2 separate regions of the Homo sapiens genome follow, and region 1 is linked to region 2. The links are contacts of gene promoters, found by promoter capture Hi-C in human tissues and cell types (Jung and others, 2019). All regions are on one chromosome and are shown on one strand. Each heading gives the region's core, a stretch centred on a gene start or on the middle of the fragment in contact. The rest is flanking DNA. Distances are from core to core; before and after follow the strand shown.

What was found. The method cuts DNA at HindIII sites, captures the fragments that hold promoters and counts their contacts. A contact is called where the count stands out against the background at its distance.
Region 1: a fragment that was not itself captured here is called in contact with the fragment with the promoter of SEPHS1 in region 2 in 1 of the 25 tissues and cell types used here (dorsolateral prefrontal cortex).

Annotation. Positions count from the first base shown.
Region 1 is chr10:14,872,740-14,875,829 of GRCh38, forward strand. It overlaps a transcript of SUV39H2-DT not described here. Among named protein-coding and RNA genes, the nearest start is that of SUV39H2-DT, 4.4 kb to the right of the region's middle. The HindIII fragment of the contact is 4,340 bases long and covers 1-3,090 here.
Region 2 is chr10:13,347,019-13,350,336 of GRCh38, forward strand. SEPHS1 (selenophosphate synthetase 1) reads right to left here and starts at 1,275. Exons shown (of 9, transcript NM_012247.5): 1 at 982-1,275. RefSeq lists silencers at 211-1,040, 1,171-1,390 and enhancers at 1,460-2,250, 2,251-3,042. The HindIII fragment of the contact is 27,088 bases long and covers 1-3,318 here.

The DNA of each region.
Region 1 (3,090 bases), core at 123-2,622, 1.5 Mb after region 2:
TTACCAGAGAATATTCACTAGAGCCCTGAGATCCTCAGTGGGTTCCAGTGAAAACTTATTCATGTTGGCTGCTATGGAGTTAGTTGGTAGTACCCTTCTAAAAGTTTTTAAAGATCCAGAAACCAAACTTAAATTTTTTCATCATTATTTTGCATCAAATTATTGACAGAACCATGAAGAGAATTCAGATATGATTTTAAGTCCACAGAGTCTTTAAATACAGAAGCAGCTTTAAAGGTGTACTCTTTGTCCTAAGTTATTAGTTATTTCTTAGGATCTTTTTCCAAAGTCATAGAAAATTTGAAATAAAAGTGATTTTGGTATAAGCAATTCAGTGGCTTCAGAACACAGGAAAACACCAACTGAACTAGTTCTACTGCTAGGTCTACATGCTTTCAATTATGCTTTGAAAAACTTTTAGGATTTTATTTTGTGGTTATTGTTAGCTTTTAAAATAGATCTGGGGTGCCAAACTATGGCCAGTGAGTCAGATCTATCTCACCCCTGTTTTCATAGATAAAATTTTATTAGAACACAGTCACACTCTAATTGTATATGGGCTGGCTGTGGCGGTTTTCACATTAGAGTGGCAGAGATGAATAGTTGCACAAAGGCTGTGTGGCCCACAAAGCTTAAAATATTTACTGTCTGGCCTTCTACATAAAAAATTTGACACCTAAAGTACATTATTGAAACTTATAGAATAAAATAACTTCTTCTAAAGTTTTCTGCTATATTTATGTAATGCTTTACTTATTGGCTCCTTTCCCCACTAGATTATTAAGCATTGTGAGAGCAGATACTCTCAGTCTTAGTCACCATTTTGCCTCAGCCCCTACAACAGTACGTGAGCATAGTGGGTGTTCCTAAGTGCTTATCAAATAAATGAATTATGTGGAAGAAAAAATAATGTCATGTTTGTATGCTACAGGACAATGGCCAGTGAGTAGTACATCTGTTGTATATTTTATGGTTTGTTTAGAAACATAAGGAAGGAAAGGAATAGCACTGCTGACTTTATTGGTCAGCTTTGCATGTTTGTTTGGTTGTTTTCCCCTAGACTTATCAAATTTGAAATTGTCATCAATAAGTCCTCTACTGCCTAATGAAATTCTTCCACATTTTTTCGTACCCTCAGGTGATAAGTTTTTTCCTTGTGAATTTTTGAAAGATTTGCTGACAAAATTTTCTAGTGTTTTTTTATTTTTCAAGGTGAAAATAGCTTTAAATTTTTTGTTTGTAAGAATGATACATAGTCAATATAAAATTCAAATTCCAAAAGAAAAAAATATAAAACATTCTTTATTCTACCATCCAGAATAGTAACTATAAAGATTTTTGGTGAGTACCTTGATAATCTTTTCATGTACATCCTAGTTATCTTTGTTATATGTATGTCGTAGCAAAGATAATTGGGATGTACATGAGATACATGCAATTTATACTCATGAAATGTAAATATATTTCATGAAGTTTAAATATGTATATATTTAAATGTGGGGAAAGTAGTCAAGTAAGTGAAGTATTACATAAATATGGAAGAAAAGTTTTGAAGAAGTCATTTTATTGTGGAAGTTTCAATAATCTACCTCGGGTCAAGTTTTTTATATAAAAGGCCAGATAGTAAATATATACATATTTAAACTTAAACACTTTTACCACTAAAAGCTTATGTCAAATTATAGTTTTGCCTATTTACATCTGACATTGTCTGAAGAACAGAGCCAAATATAAAAATAGGAAGAAATACCTATGATGTGAAAGTCTTGGAACGTGTCTTAGTTTGGACTGCTATAATAAAGTACCATAGTCTGGGGGGTGGCTTGTAAACATCAGAAATGTATCATAGTTCTGGAGGCTGGAAGTCAGTTCGGGTGCTGGACCAGGCTGGAAGCGGGGCCGGGTTCTGATGAGGGCTCCCTTTTGGGTTGCCAGCTATCCTTATAACCTCACACGGAGGATAGAGGGCGAGAGAGCTCTGAAGGGTCCCTCTTGTAAGGGTGTCAATCCCATGCATGCAGCCTCCACCTTCATGATTTAATCACCTCCCAAAGGCCCCACCTCCCAATATAATCACTTTGGGGGCGAGGATTTCAACACTGGAATTTTTCAGAGATGAAAACGTTCAGTCCTTAACAGGAGGTCACAAAATATTCATCACAAACTGAAAGCTTTTATATGTATAAGAATTCTTAAAAGTATCCTAGCATAAAAGTTCTATGGGAAAAATCACAATATCTAAAATGATAATGAGTGACCATATAATACTGTTATTTGCTTTAATTCATTATCTCATTTTAAAATTTTGATCTCATCACAATTCCACGAGTAGTTGTACTATGTAGAGAGTAATATGGCCTTGGTTATTTCTGTTTTCCAGATAATAGATTCACAGCAGTTAAATAAAGTATCCAAGGTCTCACAGTGAATAAATGGTGGATTTTGAACTAACATTCAGATGCTTATTTTGTAAACTTAATTTTTCTTGACTGCTTACTATTTTAAGCACATTACATGGATTATTTCATTTAAATTCACATTCTTAATCTAGTGTTCATTCTATGATTCTTTGCCTCTCAGAAGAGAACGTTTATTTCAGTAGAAGAGGAGACACTCCAGAAATCATGTGGTCTTTGTGAAAAAAATACTGGGAAAGGGTCATGATTCTCTACTTTTCCCTTGAGGACCCTGGTGTGTGTCTCTCAGTGGCTTTTTATTTCTCTCTCCATTTATAGCCAGGATTTACCAACACCCTCAAACATTTTAGTCCCAGGAACCCTTTATAGTCTTAAAAAATAACATGTTGAGAACCCATAGAGCTTTTGTTTGTTACATATACATAAAATGTAGTTATATAACTATAGTTACCATATGGAAATTAAAACCAATTTTAAAAATTATTTCTAAGTAATAAAGTTAATTTTTTATGAGAAATAATTTTTCTAAGACAAAAAATTAGTGGCAAGGGTGGTATCTGGGGTTTTATTTTTTGTTTTTTGTCTTGAGACAGGGTCTTGCTCTGTTGCCCAGGCTGCAATGTAGTGGTTTGATCATAGCTCACTACACCCTCAAACTCCTGGGCTCAAGCGA
Region 2 (3,318 bases), core at 25-2,524:
GTTCTGGGGGAAATGTGCAGTGATTAGGGAACCAGGGGGATCCATTTGCATTAATAAGGGACGGTGCCCGGCGACCCCGCAGCCACATGTTTACGCCTTTAAAACAATGGCATGAATATTTAAAGCAACGTTTAGCCCTTTCCTTCCCGGGCACATTTCCATGGTTTGGTTTTTTTTTTTCTTCCAACGAGCGTGGGGAGCCGGGGAGCCGGTCAGCGGGGTGGGCCCGGCGCGCTGCCCCGCCAACCCCGGACCTACCTCCCCGCCGGCCCCGCACAATGGGGCGCGCTCTCCAGGACGCCCGCGTCGGAGGCGGCCGGGGAGGGGAGCAAGGAACCCGGGGACACCTTCGGGCTCAGGCTCAGGCTCAGGCCCTCGCCGCCGCCTCGGAAGGCCCAGCAGGCCCGGGCTGCGGGCCGGCGGCGGGGCGGAGGCGGCAGCTCGGGGCCCCGGCCGGGCCATCCCTGTTCGGGCCGGCGGGAGGCGGCGGGAGCCGGCGGGCACCGCGCGTGCGGCCCAGGAGCCGGGGAGGACGCCGGGACGCACCCGCCCCGGGTCGACAGGGCCCGCGCGGAGAAAAGGGGAGGCGGGGAGGCCCCGGAGGCACCCCGCGACCCCAGGCCGGCCGCTCCCGCCGCGCGCACGGGCCGCCGCCGCCGCCGCGCAAAAATGTCGGCGGGCGAAAAAATTAACCCCTGCGTGGCCGCCGCCGCCCTCCCCTCCGCTCCTCCCCGCCCTCCCTCCCTCCTTCCCCGGCCCCGCGCGGCGGCGGCGGCGGCGCGGGCGGCGCTTCTTTTTTAAAGCGGCCCCACCAAGCCCGGCGCTGCCCCTCTCCAGGCAGGGCTGGCGGGGCCGGCGGCGCGCGGCTCCCCGGCGGTCCCGGGCGGCCCGGAGGGGGATTTGCAACGGCCGCCGCGGGCCTGCGGACCCAGATTCCCCTTTAAGCCTGCGCCTCCCCCCCGCGCCGGGCCCGCCGCTTACCGGCTCGCTTTGCGCCCTCCGCCTCCTCCCGAAAACGGGCCGCGGGCCGCTCCCACAATGCACCGGGCGCGGCCGGGCTCCCTTAAGCGTCGCCTGAATAAAAATGCCGCGCCCGGCGGCGGCGGCGGCGGCGGGGGCCCGGGCCCGCGCCTGGGCGCCGCGGGGGCTCGCCTGCCTCGGCGCGGCCCTGCGGGAGCCGGGCCGCCGCGCTCCCGCCGGCTGGGCGCGCGGGGGTCCTTTAAGGCCGGCCACCTCCCTTTAAGAGGCGGCCCTGGCTGCTGGGTGGCGGCGTGCGGCCCGGGAAGGGGGCGGGGGCGCCGTGCAGCCCCGAGCGCGGCAATGATTGGTCTCGGGGGAGGGGTGGGGGGTTGCAAACCCGAGGAGCGGTGGCATCCGTTGCATGATGCAAAAAAGGATTGATTTCAAAAGTTGCGAGTTGCATTGGCAGCCGCCCTTGGCGCCCGGGCCACCTTTTTCCCGGGCCCCGCTGCAAGGGCCGGGAACGTTTCCGCCACCTGGCCGGGCTCGACCGCGCGGCGCTCTGCGGGGCGCTGTCCCCGCTCCCCGAGTGCGCAGCGGAGCGTCCTGGAAGACAATGACCATGGGAACAATTTGCACAGGAGGCTAGGAGCCCAGGAAAAGCCGCCTGGGCGCCAGGCAGAGGTTTTTTGAAAACACAAACGGCGCGTTAGATGCTTGGGGACTCCCAGCATCTGTCCTTCCTATTGTTTAGCTCGGCTCCGGAGTTCACGGGAGCCTCGTGAAATGTGGAGACGTCCTGCAAAGTTTCTTGAACACTTCATGTGCGTGGTAGGAAGTCGAGGAAAAAGGTTTACGGTTCCCCGCTGGTTGCATTGTTTGTCCTGCACATGTTCGAGCGAACATGGCAGCCGCAACCCTGGATGTGTTCGAATTGACATCGAGGGGGGAGCTTCACGTCGTGAAATAACTTTTTTCTGGGCTTTCGAGATTCTAAAGCATTGCTGATGAAAATAAACCAAATACTTTCAGATATCGTTTAGGGCTTCTCTCTAAAACAGCAGTGTGCAGGAATGCCGATCGAACTTTTCTAGGCAGTAGGTCAGCATTTTCCAAATGTTATTTGGGAGCAGAAATGTTTTGGGTCACTGGACCGTGCTTTACGTGGCACGGCAGGTTGGCACGCTACGCAGATGCCCTTTTCGTTAACATTTCCGCTTGCCAGTTGCTCCGGGTTTTAATCCTGGGCTGGATGCAGAAGTGATGCCACCTCGAAGACAGGCTGCTCCTGTCTTTGTGTACTTTCTTCATACCCTGTAGTAAGTTTGCAAAGAACGTGTTAGTCTGCATTCTTTTATTTTATATTTATTTATTTATTTATTTTGAGACGGAGTCCCACTCTGTCGCCAGGCTGGAGTGCAGTGGCGCGATCTCGGCTCACTGCAACCTCCGCCTCCTGGGTTCAGGTGATTCTCCTGCCTCAGCCTCCCCAGTAGCTGGGATTACAGGCGCCTGCCACTGGAGGATGGCTTCTCCCAGAGGGGAAGACAGGGTCACGGTTCTCATTAAGAGGGTATTGTACTAGTCAAGCCCGGAGATGTACTTGAACTGAAAGCAAGGGGAATGCAGCCCAGGGAAGGGATTTGGTGTGATTTAGCACGTAGGAAGGAGAGGAAGAAGGATAAGATGACCCCCAGGTTTCCAGTTTGCGGGGGTGGGGGGTGGGGGAGGGAATGAGGAGCGATGCTAATAATTTATCTAAGAACTGCTGAAAGGCAAACAAGTTTCGGGGTGAGTTCAGCTTTGGAAATGTTAAATCTGAGGTCTGCCGGATGGTGTGGGGGTGGGGCTCAGAGTTGCAAATCTCAGGTCTGCCGGATATTCCAGACCAAAGTTAATAGGGAAACAGGTCCGGAATTTGGTGTGGGGATGGGGCTCAGAGATGCAAATCTGGGTGCCATCAGCATGTAAATGGTGTTCGAAGCCTCCGTAAGAGGTGAGATTAACCCCGAAGGGAGAGCTCAGGAAAAAAGTGAAAGAGACCTTGGACAGAGCTCTGCAGAACTTGGAAATCAAGTGGCTGGGCGGGACAGAGGCCGATCCCCGCTGCGTCGGTGGGAGGCCACCATCCTCAGAACCGACTCTTCCTCCCCGCCTCCACCCACCACGAGCTCACCGGGAAGCAGTTCTCTGCCGCAGAGGCCGTAAGCCACAGATGCCTTACTTCATCCAGGGCCACACTACAGCCTTGGCCCAGATCATCTGGCAGAGTCATGCATCCTTTTCTTTGCCGGTGATGAGAGCTTCTTCCTTGGGTACTGCTTTGAGCTAGTCCTACGCTCCCCCGCAACTCCCGGG